2 separate regions of the Homo sapiens genome follow, and region 2 is linked to region 1. The links are contacts of gene promoters, found by promoter capture Hi-C in blood cells and fetal thymus (Javierre and others, 2016). All regions are on one chromosome and are shown on one strand. The core of a region is centred on a gene start or on the middle of the fragment in contact, and the rest is flanking DNA. Distances in the headings are between cores, read along the strand shown. Region 1 holds the start of GP9 (glycoprotein IX platelet). Region 2 overlaps RPN1 (ribophorin I).

Region 1 (6,236 bases), core at 3,737-6,236:
TGACACCACGCCCAGCTAAATTTTGTATTTTTAGTAGAGAGACAGTTTCATCATGTTGGCCAGGCTGGTCTTGAACTCCTGGCCTCAAGTGATCCGCCCACCTCGGCCTCCCAAAGTGCTGGGATTACAGGCGTGAGCCATCACGCCTGGCTGTCAGGCCCCCCTTTCTTCCCTGACAGTGTGCCAGTGGCCCCTGCCCATGATGACTTCCACAGTGCCTGCTGTGGCCAGACCCCCAGCAAAGCACCTGTCAGGCTTATCTCACTCTTTCCTCACAGCAGTCTGGGAGGTGGGGTCTTTGATTTTCCCCATTCTGCAGATGAGGAAACTGAGGCAGAGATAGGCTAAGACTATTGCCCAAGGTCACAGAGCAAGTAAGTAGCAAAACCAGGTTTCAGAGCAAGGCAGGCTGCTCCACAGGCTGGCTCAGAACAGCCGGGGTGACGGAGACCTGCATCTGCAAAGATCCAGCAAGCAGAGGCTCTGTTCCAAGGGGGTCCAACAGTGGCAGACAGGGTTACCCATTTCCTGTTGGTTGCACACAGGCTAAAAATGCTACCTAATAATCACTGCCTCTTAATCCCCTCTGCTTCCCATGAGAAGGAAAAATTGTCTTGGGGGATATTGAAAGATCCCAGCCTCCAAAGTAAGTTTACCTAAGCAGTTTGCCTCATAATACGATTACCAAACAGAGGCTGTTTCCTTCAGCTCAGGGGACAAGAAAGGAGTGGCTGTCTCCCTCATGTTTCTCGTTATTTGTGTCATAGGCATGTATCACCTGAAATTGCCTGAGAGGCTCAACCAACTTTTAGTCACAAGATCTGCGAACACTTCCCTAGTGGGTGCTGAGGTTCTCCAAGGAGCTGCTGGGCCCATTTGCAAACAGATAAGCAAACGGCTGGGTGAGTGCGTCGAGGAGGGCTTCCCGTAAGAAGTTATGCCCCCGGTGAATCTTAAAGGATGCAGCATGCCAGGCAAAATTCCACAGGGCTCCAGAAAGAGGGCAGTGCAGAGGCAAAAGCACAGACAGAAGTTGGCATGTGGGTGGGGAGTGAGGGACATGGCTAGCCTACCACGAAGCTTCAGATCAGGAAGAGATGAGAGGTGAGGCTGGACAGGGTGGCAGAGGGTGTCCTGAAGACAGCAGGGAGCCATGAAAGACATGGAGCAGGAGTGTAGTGAGATTAAACCTGTATAGTAGAGGCAGAGGCCAGCATCAAGGAGACAGCAGTCCTGGCAAGACACAGATAAGGCCAGCACTAGAGAAGAGACAGCCAGCAAGGCTGACAAGTATGTATTAGATAATGCCCATGGGCCAGGCAGAGGTGCTGGGGAGGGAAGAGTTAATGGGACAGAGTCTCTGCCCTCTTGAGTTTCACATCAATGGGAGGAGACATTTAATAAACACATAAAAATGTAAAAATAAGATCATTTCAGATCCTGATCAATGCTAAGGAAGATATGAAATGGAATATTATGGTACAGAAGGATGGAGCTGTGCCTTGGCAAGGGAGGCCTTTGAGGAGGGGTCATCTGAATTGAGATGAGAATGATGATCAGGAGGAAGCCATGTGGGGCTCTGGGGGAAGGGCACTCCAGGCAGAGGGAACAGCAAGTGCAAAGGCCCTGAGGCAGGAAAGTGCTGGAGTGTTTGAGCAACAGGAAGAAAATTGGTGTGGCTGGACATTGATGAGCAAAGTAGACAGTGGGTGATGGGGTCAAGAAATAGGCAGGGGCCAAGCTACAGGGGGGCCTGTAGCTTCCTGACCACAGGGGCACGGGTTTTCTTTTATTTGCGATGGGAAGCCAAGAAGGCGAACGAAGACCAGAGCAGTAGCAGCACAGGGAGAAGTGGTTAAGTTCTGAATAGATCCTGGTGACTGAAATGACAGGAATTACTGATGGGTTGGACAGCAAGTAGAAGTGACTCTTCAGAGGAGTTTTATGGAAGAGAGAAGCAGAAAAATCAGATGGTAATTGGAGAAAGAGGTGGAATTAAGGAAGGATTTTTCAAAAGGGCAGGATTATAGGTTGCTTCTTTTTTTTTTTTTTTTTTTTGAGACGGAGTTTTGCTCTTGTTGCTCAGCCTGGAGTGCAATGGCGCGATCTCAGCTCACCACAGCCTCCGCTTCCTGGGTTCAAGTGATTCTCTTGCCTCAGCCTCCCAAGTAGCTGGGATTACAGGCATACACCACCACGCCCAGCTAATTTTGTATTTTTAGTAGAGATGGTGTTTCTCCATGTTGGTCAGGCTGGTCTCGAAACCCACTTTAGGCAGACCTAAAGTGATCTGCCTGCCTCAGCCTCCCAAAGTGCTGGGATTGCAGGCGTGAGCCACCGCGCCTGGTCTGGCTGCTCCTAACCTGATGGAATGACCCAGTGAAGGAGAAATTGATCATGCAGAGGAAGGGGCACCTGATGGGGCAATGTCCTGGAAGGATGGAGAGGGGACAACTCACAGCACAAGAGTGGGGCTTGGCCTTCGCCTTGGTTCCTATTGCTGCTGTCACAAGAGGCTTAATGCAGCACACATTTATTTTCTCATTCTTCATCACACAGCTCCTGTGGGTTCTCTTATTCCAGCCCTCCTGAGGTAGATCAGCAGGACCTGTTTTCTGAGCACCTGTCAGGACCCCCGGTCCCCAGCCTGCTGATGGCAGCAGGATCTGGTTGAAACAAGGTGTAGTGAAGAAGCTGGCAGACACCAGAAACCAGCAGATGGGAACGAAAGCAACCGCTAGTTGCCCTCACTGCTCACTAACATAGACACTCCCCCTGGCACCATGGTAGTTTACAAATGCCATGGCAGCACGCCATGGCAACAACCTGAAAGTTACAGGGTTCTGGAAACTCACCACCCCTTTTCTAGAAAGTTTGAAATAACCTGCCCCTGAATTTGCATGTAATGAATAGTGGCTGTAAGTGCAGTTGCCAAAAGCCCACACACTACTGCTCTGGGCACACTGCCTGTGGGGTAGCCCTGCTCCCAGAGAGCAGCACCTCTGCTATGCACTGCTGCTTCAATAAAGCGGCTTTCTTCACCACTGGCTCTTTGACTTCTTTCCTGGCCAAAGCCAAGAGCCCTCAGGGGCAAAGCCCTGATTTGGGGGCTCACCTGCCCTGCATCACTTGTAGGTGGAAATCAAGCTGCTGGCAGGGCTGCATTCCTCTCTGGAGGCTCTGGGAGAATCCACTTGCAGGCTCACCCAGGCTGTTTACAGATCCACTTCCTGCATTATCCTGTGCCTCTTGGGCAGATGGGTATGTATTTACCCATATGGGTAAATACACATGGGGAAAAAGCCTTGCCTGATGTTGGGATGGAGGGAAATTTTTATTTTCTTCTTCCAGTTCATCTGAACATTCTAATTTCCCACAACAAAAATCATTTATTTGTTATTTATGTAGTTTTTTAAATTCACAAAACCCATCTATGTTGATCTAGTTTTTTGTTTTAAGTTGTACATGCTGAAAATAAGGAAATCTCAGAGGCTCAAGAGGAAGGAGGGCACAGGCCCCACCAGATCTGGTCACAACACCTGGCCTGGCAGCTCCAGCACCCCCACTCACTCCAGAACCCCTTACCCACCTGCGTGGGGCTCACTGGTGAATGTGTGCAGGGCAGAGGAGGTGGAACATGCCAAGGCTCCATGGGGAGGGAGGGAAGGGCCAGACAGGCTGAGGCTCCTCTCCATGGTCCAGGCTCCGGTCAGAGTCCCCACTGAGCACATACCAGGGGACCCCCAGCAGCAACCAGGCCCCCGAGCAGGTGTGACATCAGTGGGGGAACAGCACCTTCCCCACCCTTCTCTGAGCCCAGCATCAGTGGGTGGAGGAAGCAGAGCTGGGGCCTGGCAGCCTCTCAGGGCCTCCTAGGAGGGTGAACACCCAAATCCTGCCCTACCCAAATCCAGAACCAGGAGGCGGGGAGAGAACAGGCGGCCTCCCAAGGAAGGACTCACCCTGCTTGGCCATGCAGGAGGAGGAAGGCTGGCCTGAGAAGGATGTGAGACCAAAATAAGAACAAGCACACCCCCACCCCCGTAGGGCCGAGGAATATTCCCGAGGGTCCTGAATGTCAACGAAGTGCGTTTAAAGCCTCCGTCAGCCTTCTGTCTTTGGCTTTTCCTGCCAGGCTTCTGTAACTTCTGTGTTTTTACCCTGTTTTATTTATTTTTTAAGACGGAGTCTCGCTCTGTCACCCAGGCTGGAGTGCAATGGCACGGTCTCGGCTCACTGCCACCTCTGCCTCCTGGGTTCAAGCAATTCTCCATCCCAAAATATATTTATCTTTTAAAGGAAGCTTTATGTCACTAACATAAATGGAAAATGGTGTCCCTCCCCTAAGTAGAATGTGCTCTAGAAGAAAATGTACTGCAAATGTTAAAACCATAGGCCAAAATTCTAGCTAGAGATTCACACTTGGTAGAGGCTCTGCTTCCCAGGCCTACAGCTGTTTGTTAGAAAGAGGCATGGAGAAGCACTAGGCAGGAGCTAAAAACACCATGGCACCAAGAAGAGACTCCGTCCTTGAGTATACAGGAGGAGGGAGGAGAGTTAAAAATGAAGTCACTCTCCCCACCATGGTGTTCTCAGCCAGTGGGAGCTGCCCAGCCCACACCTCTGTGAGGCAGGCAGGACCGGTCACTGCTCCCACTTTACAGATGAGGAAAACTGAGATTCGGAGGAACAACCAGCAGAGCCACGTTTCTCAGGGGTCTCCTAGTTCCCACCTTCTGGGAGCAGGTGAGGGGCCACCCTCAGTCCTCCACAGACCTGATTCCAAAGCCCATCAAGGCACTGGCGGCACAGTGGGACCCCCTTCTATAAACCGGGGTTGAGATGTGGTTCTGTGCCCAAGGCGCGGGCCCCTGAGGGCCTCCTGCCTCTGGAAATAGGCCCCAAGGCTGCACTGGGGGGATAAGCCAGGCTATTTTCATCACTTCCTTCCGCCCGCTCCCGCAGCGGCCACCTCAGCTGTATCCCATAGAGTTGCCACCCAGGCCTCAGCCAGGACCTTTCAGGCCAGACAGGAGCACCTGACCAAAGGCTTCACAGGTAAGTGGCCCTCCGTATTACCCAGCATGGCCTCCCACAGGGAGAGAGGAGGTCAGTTCCTGTCCCTTTAACAAGACAGGGTTGGGTGGGACATTCCCTCTGAGACACCATCTCCTTGGCTGAGTCAAGATGAGTGAGTTGATTTGACACTTATTCACTGGAAACCTGCTGTGGGTAGGGGGAGCTCTGCTGGTGGAGGGGAAACGCCTGTGGGGAAGAACCAAACAGAGGGCCACGGTTGCCGAGACCCGAGTGTGAGTCTGGCCTCTGACACCACACCGGTGGCCCTGGGCACATTGCTTTCCCTCTCTGGGCCTCAGTTTCCCCAAGTCAGTGTTAGCCCAGATGAGTGGTTTTCCAGATGGGGTCCCACTGAGTTCCCCTCCCTGCTCCAGCCAGTGTCCCTGTCCTGCTGTCTTCTGCATCTGGGAATCAGGTAACAGCTCACTTAGCTGGTGGGGGGTGCTGGGCGCAGCCTGCAGGGCCCTCCAAGGCTCTTTCCTAGTCTCTGGGGACTGTGGTCCTGGGCTGGGACTCATTTAGCAGCCATCTGCTCCTCTCATCCCCAAGCAGGGGATGGGGTCTCTGCTAAGGGCCAGGAAGTCCCTTCCCCTTCCCAAAAACAAACTTACCCAATCCACAGCCGCCCTCACCGCCCGGCCTTCTACGGTGTCCAGAGACAGTTAGCCAGGCCTGGGCTGGGCACACTCCACCTTCCCTAGTCACCAGCTGGTTTCCCAGAGGAGAAGGCTGAGACCCGAGAAGGGAGGTGAGTGCACCCCGTCCCATGTCAGGCTCCGCTACATCCCCAGTGCTTGCCGTCCCTGAGGATCGGTCCAGGCTGCCAGGCCCTCCCTCACAGCCCCTCTCTCTGCAGCCAGCCTGTCCCATGCCTGCCTGGGGAGCCCTGTTCCTGCTCTGGGCCACAGCAGAGGCCACCAAGGACTGCCCCAGCCCATGTACCTGCCGCGCCCTGGAAACCATGGGGCTGTGGGTGGACTGCAGGGGCCACGGACTCACGGCCCTGCCTGCCCTGCCGGCCCGCACCCGCCACCTTCTGCTGGCCAACAACAGCCTTCAGTCCGTGCCCCCGGGAGCCTTTGACCACCTGCCCCAGCTGCAGACCCTCGATGTGACGCAGAACCCCTGGCACTGTGACTGCAGCCTCACCTATCTGC
Region 2 (6,607 bases), core at 2,070-4,569, 440 kb before region 1:
GAGGAACAGGAATTTGGAAAAATAAAATAAAAACAAAAATCTGTGCTTCCTCCCTCCCTCCACTGAGGCTGCTTCTGGGACTCTGCCTGCACTAACTGGCCCCAGAATCCCAGCTCATCAATGCTAGAAGGCCCTTGGACATCTGTCATTGTGCAGTAAGACTTGAGGCCCAGAGAGGTCAGGGACTTGCCCAAGTTCACACAGGTGCCGGCTGCAGAGAGGGACCTGTCCCAGGTCTGTCTGTCTCAGCGAGGGCTGGCTTCTCCCTCCACACCTAGGGCTCCAACCCAATAGGTGGTTCAGACTGCTGAGACCTCGATCTGCAGTCTGAACCAATGAATAAATGGACATTTATAAAGAAAGCACTTTGTAAACAGCTACTCTTAGTTCAAATCAAAGCATTATACTTGTCACCCTGGTATCTGTCAAAGGAAGAGACTCCTGCTCCTTGAGCCGGTGCTGCGCCAGGGGCTTTCCCAGGCAGCATACCTCTGAGCTCCTTCCAGTCCTGATATCGTTATGGTCCTCATTCTCCAGGTGAGCAATGTGAGGCTCAGAGAAGAGAAACAGAAAGCCCGGAGGCTTGAGTGGGTCAGACACCCATCAGGAGCTTGGCATGAGTATGACAGCTCCTTGACGCAAAGTCTAGGGGGCATGAGTGCTGGGGCCATTGCAGGCACCAGGACCCAAGCCTAGGGGAGAGGAAGCTGGAAGCTGAGAAGCTGGAGCGCTCTAGAGGGCAGGTATGCATGAGACCTGACTTGCAGGCAGGAGGTCCTGCAGCCACCAGAGGCCTGGATGGGGTGAGGAAGAGGCCAAGAGAAAAGAGGCTGAAGGATTTATGGCCACCCAGCCCACACCCTGCTACACCACCCTGCCCAGCTCTCAGCTGTCCTGGGTCTCAGCTCAGGAGTCTCCTCTAAGGGATGCCCTCCTGACCCTCCAGACTACATCCATTTATCATATCACCCATTTTATTTCCTTCATAGCATTTATCACTATCATATTGCTGGTGCCCAAAACAGTGCCCACTACAAAGTGGATTTTTCTTTGGTGTGTGTTTGTATAGTTTGTTTGTTTGTTTTTAGCCATTCAGATTGCATTTATTTGTAACAATACGCATGCAGCCCTCCCTCTGGTCTTCCAGTCCCTGTCCCTCCCAGGGCAGCGCCCTTTCCTGAACACTCCTGTCTACCCTCGGAGTTGCTGACTTTTAGAAATCATAATGAGGCCGGATGCAGTGGCTCATGCCTGTAATCCCAGCACTTTGGGAGGCCGAGGTGGGTGGATCACCTGAGGTCAGGAGTTCAAGACCAGGCTGGCCAACATGGTGAAACCCCGTCTCTACTAAAAATACAAAAATTAGTCAGGCATGATGGTGGGTGCCTGTAATCCCAGCTACTTGGGAGGCTGAGGTGGGAGAATCCCTTGAACCTGGGAGACGGTGGTTGCAGTGAGCCCAGATCACGCCACTGCACCCGGGCAAGATCAGCCTGGGTGGCTGAGCAAGACTCTGTCTCAAAAAGAAAAAAAGAAAGAAAAAAAAAGAAATAACAATGAGCACCCATTTTTCTGTTACTAGCTTTCCTACTCACCTTTGAAAAAGGCAAAAACCTCAACAATGCATAAACCACACATAAGAAGGCAAATTCACAAGGAAAAATGACCAACCTCATCCATTATTTAAAAATGGCAAATAGGCCAGGCATGGTGCTTCATGCCTATAATCTCAGCACTTCAGGAGGCCAAGGCAGGTGGATCACTTGAGCCCAGGAGTTTGAGACCAGCCTGAGCAACACAGCAAAACCCCGTCTCTACAAAAAATACAAAAATTGTTTTTGTTTTCAAGACAGGGTTTCTCTCTGTCACCCAGGCTGGAGTGCAGTGGTGTGATCATAGCTCACTGCAGCCTCAACCTCCTGGGTTCAAATGATCCTCCCAACTCAGCCTCCCAAAGTGTTGGGAGGACATTTATAAAGTCCACTGCACTCAGTTGAAGATATTTGTTGAATGAATGGATGTGCTGCCTCTGTTTAAACTCTGCTGAAATAGAGCACCCAGTGTAGGGAGGCAAACAGTCCATTCCACTTCAGAAAGCAGTGTCCAGTAGTGTAAGGTAGGGACATCTCAGCCCACCTGGAGAATAGGGAAGGCTGCCCAGGAGGCGAAGCTTGAACAGGTCTTTGCTGATCTCCTCAGTGCTAATGAAGGCACAGTCTCTCAGGGCTCTCCCATGAGATCACTGCCTTAAGCCCTCAATCCCACCCAATCCTGCTCTACTGGGATCTATTCACTGGCCCCTTCTCTCCTGGATCTTCAGCCTTTATGTCCCTGTTACCTCCTTCCTTCCCATCAGCATTTGAACAGGCTCCTGTCCTTCCCACTGCTACAGACTGAATGTCTGCATCCCCCCAGAATTCTTATGTTGAAACCTAACCCCCAATGTGAAGCATTAGAGGGTGGCACCTTTGTGAGGTGATTAGGCCATGAGGGTAGAGCCTTCATGAATGGACATTAGTGCCCTTATAAGATACATCCGAGAGTTCCCTCATCTCTGCCACCATGTGAGGACACGAGAAGGTGCTATCTTTGAACCAAGCAGCAGGACCTCTCAACACCAAATCTGCCGGTGCCTTGATCTTGGACTTCCCAGCCTCCAGAACTGTAAGAAGCAAATTTCTATTTATAGCTACCCAGTCTATGGTATTTTGTTATAGCAGCCTTAACAGACTGAGACACTCGTCTTAAATCTTTCTGGATTCTATCCCCTGAGTGGAAGTCAAAAAAGGAGTCTGGGCTCCTCCCTCCCCACCAACCCCCACAAGCAAATCCTTCAGATGCTGCGATGGACCCTCCTGATGGCCCTACCTTCTGACTTGCCTTTCCTGATGCCCAGCACTTCTGCTGTCTGCTCCCTTCTGTGTCCCCTGCATTTAGTCCTGGGCCTGTCACACCACATATGGAACTAAGGGCCTGATGGAAGCTGAGACCCTAAAGGGCTGGGCTGGGGGCACCATGAAGGGGTTGGCCATGGTAGGGGACAGGCTGCATCATTCAGCTTTCGCTTCAGGTCTAGCCCAGTTTGAAGGTTCTCTCTTCCCTCCCTGTCATCTCCCACACCTGCCCAGGCAGGTGACAAAGCAGTCCCCAGATCCCAGGCCACCAGCCCCAGAACCAGGCCAGAGTCCCAGAGTCAGGCCCAGCTTCAAAATGGCGCCAGGCCTCATCCAAAGCATCAGGCCTTTGCAGAGGGCCCTGGGGTACACTCGGGGGCATTTCCTGTCTGAGCCTGCGGCCCCCAACCGCTGGCAGCATGGGCTTCCGGCGGGGCTGCGGCCGGGGCCTGCACTATCAGCTCGGCACCAGACGCCCGGTCAGGATACTTGTGGTGAAACTGTGAGGGCGCACTGGGTCCTTTGGGGTTTTCTCCCATGACAGCCTCCAAGACAAATGGAAGAGAGAAAGTGACACCCAGCCCTTCTTCAGCCGTGTTTTCCCCTCCCTGAGCCAGGGTCCAGGTTCAAGGCTGGGGGACTGCCATGAGGCCACCTATGACTACAGGGACATCCCAAAGCTGCAGCCATGGAAGCAGCCAGGGCCAGGCCACTAGGGTCAGGCATCTTGGCCAAGGCTGGACAAAAGGCACTGTGGCCTGGGGATCTGAATGGGAGTGGGAGTGGGTGGGCCACTCCTATACGGCCACATGAGGGCCACAGAGAAAGTACGCTGGGTCTGAGACTGAGAGGTGTCAGGTGTCTGGGGCATGTCACCTTGCGCCAAGGGATGCCCAGCCTGAACCTGGCTTTACACCTAGGGCCCCACTTCACCTCCTCCCTGAGATTTACAAGGGGGAAACTGAGGCCCTGTTTACTACTGGGGAAACCGAGGATCAGGGAAGCGCAGGGCTGCGCGTGGCGTAGGGCGCTCTGTCCCAGCAACCAAAGGATGTAAGCCCGTAGGTGGGGAGGGCAGCACCGGATGCCCCACTGGGCCCAGGGATGCACCCACCACAGGATGCTGGGGGAGCCACCGGCCTTGGCCAGCCCAGCTAGCCCTGTGGCTTTCCAGGGCAGCTGAGAGCCCAGGTCCCCATGGCTAAGCCCCTCAGCAGCCCAGTGGTCCTGAGCCCGCCGACCCCAGACCCAGTCCTAGTCCGGCCAGAGGAGGCCGTTTACGAGCCCACACCCGTAGGTGGCGCCACAGCCGGAGAATTGGCTTTGGTTCTGTTGGAGCCGCGCCGCCTTTAAATTAGCCCCACGCATGCGCGACTTTTCTAGCCCGAGCCCGCCGTCTGCGCCTGCGATTTCGCCCATACTCCCCGGTGCCCGCCTCGTGACGTGCCGCAGTGTTACGAAGGGACACCAGGGCGCAGGCGCAGCTCGCTCCTCAGGCCTGCGAGAGGCCCGCCGGCCCAGCAGAGGGCGCCCACCAATCTGCACGCGGGCCCAGCGAGTTATCTTGATTTCGGCCAAGCTTTCTGACTGCTCCAAAAAACGAAGAAAAAGATTCAGGGAGAGTAAGAGGATGAAGAGAGCTGGTGAAGCAGCTGACCAAATGGCCCGAGGTGGTATGCAGCCGCGGTAAAGCAGGGCCCCTCCGTGAGGCACAGCCGCCCGGGGGTTCCCTAGGGGAAGCAGGGGCTGCGGCAGACGCCTCTCGGGCAGGTCAGGGTATGCACCCTCCCGCAGGGGCTCCCAAGGCCGGGCGTGCGTGAGGCCAGGTCCACGGGCACACCACTGTGAACACTGATTAAACGTGGCCTCCACGGCTTCCAACCCCCAGGACAGGACCAACCCTCTGCCCCCGGCTCAGGCCAGAGCTCGGCGAGACCGTCGCTGTTTAACAAGCATTTGCTATACGCCACCTTGCATTATGACAGCATGTGACCCACACAGCCATCCTAGGAAGCAGGTAACAGCCCTACTCCATTTTGCACGGAAAGACTTGCCTGAGGTCACAGAGAGCGGCAGGCCTGGGATTTCCATCCAGGGATCCGACTGCAGAGCACGACTCTGGAGGGTCTTCCTTCTTGCTCCTCCCATCCTTCCACTGTCCTTGGATCCCCCATTTTCCCCCTGCACAATCTCCTAATCCCTATGTTCAACTTCTCATTTTCAACTGGATCTTTCCCAATGGCATTCAACACACTTGGTGTCCCCAACCTTAGAGTAGAACATTCAAGCAGCACAGCCTCCTGAAGGCCCTCACTCATCCCTTTCCCAGCCTGTTTGCGAAATGCTTTGTCAGGACTCAAAGTTAAGTCTCACTTCCGTCCAATTCCCATCCCCACACCAACACAGTTCTCAAGTCACCAATGGGTAAAAGGCTTCAGTGATCCACTCCTACAGCCAAAAGGCACTGCTCGGTCTCTTCAGCCTCAGATGGTTCACTCCTGGAAACATTTTTCCACTTGGCTTCATGACACCACAGTCCTGGTCTTTCTCGTCCCAGGTAAGGAGAGTCCTGGTCTTTGTCAACCCAGGTGGCCACTATTACTTTGTCGTCTTAATATTCAGTTCTGGATCTCTTCTTATTCTATACCCTTCCTAGGCACTGTCCCCTCCCACAGCCTCCTTCTCACCTTTTCCATAACCATGTCTAGGCCCGGCAGCCCCACATTTACCACTTGCACACCAGACCTTATAATTCCAGGCCTGAATATCCACCTGCCCAGGGACACTCCCACTTGGATGTCCCGAGCACCTCCATTTTGCCATGTCTGAAACAGAATTCAGCATCAGTTCCTCACAACTGGTCTTCTACAGACTTCCCCAGTAATCCCTCAACCCACCTGCCAATATTTAAGCTGTTTGTAAGCCACTCATGCAAACATTCAATAACCCAACTACGTGTCATAGATTGGTCTGAACACCTAGCTGTTAACATAAAGATGAGCATAAAAGACAAAACCCCTGCCCTATTGAAGCTAGTTCAGTAATCACACACATTCCAACCGTGGTATATGAGGTGGAGAAGAGGTACAAAGGAAAACGAGAGGGTACCACAGGACTTGACTGAGTGTGGCAGGCCACGGATGGCTCCCTGACACAGTAACCTTAAGTAACACATCCTGAGGCTGAGCAGGAATTCATTAGGTGGAGACAGGGAGCGAACTCCTGCAGAGAGGAAAGAGGGGCAGAAAGCCTGGCACTCACTGGCACTGTCGATTCCCCACATGACCTTTCAATCCCTTGCCTCTTGAGAGGAACCATCTCTGCTTTGCTCATCACTGTTTCCTTGATGCTGAGTAAAACATGACTCACAGGAAGGATGCAAAAACTACAAAAATGGAGGCCTCACTCCACTACTCCATTCTGTGACATAAGCCACGTCAACTCTTTCAACACTCTGGCACCACTTTCAACACTCTGGTACTAGAATAACTCAGTGTTCTAATATGTAAAATGTAAATGCTTGCCTTGCAAACCTGCTGAGAAGCAAATCCATTATTTAATGAATAAAAAGCACTTGATAAAAGCACTATTCCCAAAATTAAGAATTAAATTATGAGAGATCTTCAACAGACCAAAAACAAATGTTCACAGTCCCTGCTTTATTTCCATTTGTTCACACACGCTTTAAAAAAAAAAAAAAAAACACATGCACT

The links. Contacts are between HindIII fragments. The CHiCAGO score rates a contact against its expected background, and 5 or more counts as called.
Region 2: a contact is called between a fragment that was not itself captured here and the fragment with the promoter of GP9 in region 1, in 1 of 17 cell types (megakaryocytes). The highest score is 6.7, in megakaryocytes.

The regions. Positions count from the first base shown.
Region 1 is chr3:129,055,793-129,062,028 of GRCh38, forward strand. GP9 (glycoprotein IX platelet) reads left to right here and starts at 4,987. Exons shown (of 3, transcript NM_000174.5): 1 at 4,987-5,058; 2 at 5,702-5,827; 3 at 5,936-6,236. The coding sequence starts at 5,948. The HindIII fragment of the contact is 4,040 bases long and covers 4,302-6,236 here.
Region 2 is chr3:128,613,436-128,620,042 of GRCh38, forward strand. RPN1 (ribophorin I) reads right to left here. Exons shown (of 10, transcript NM_002950.4): 10 at 6,534-6,607. Among named protein-coding and RNA genes, the nearest start is that of RPN1, 34 kb to the right of the region's middle. RefSeq lists enhancers at 4,385-4,674, 4,468-4,979, 4,695-4,744. The HindIII fragment of the contact is 2,303 bases long and covers 2,169-4,471 here.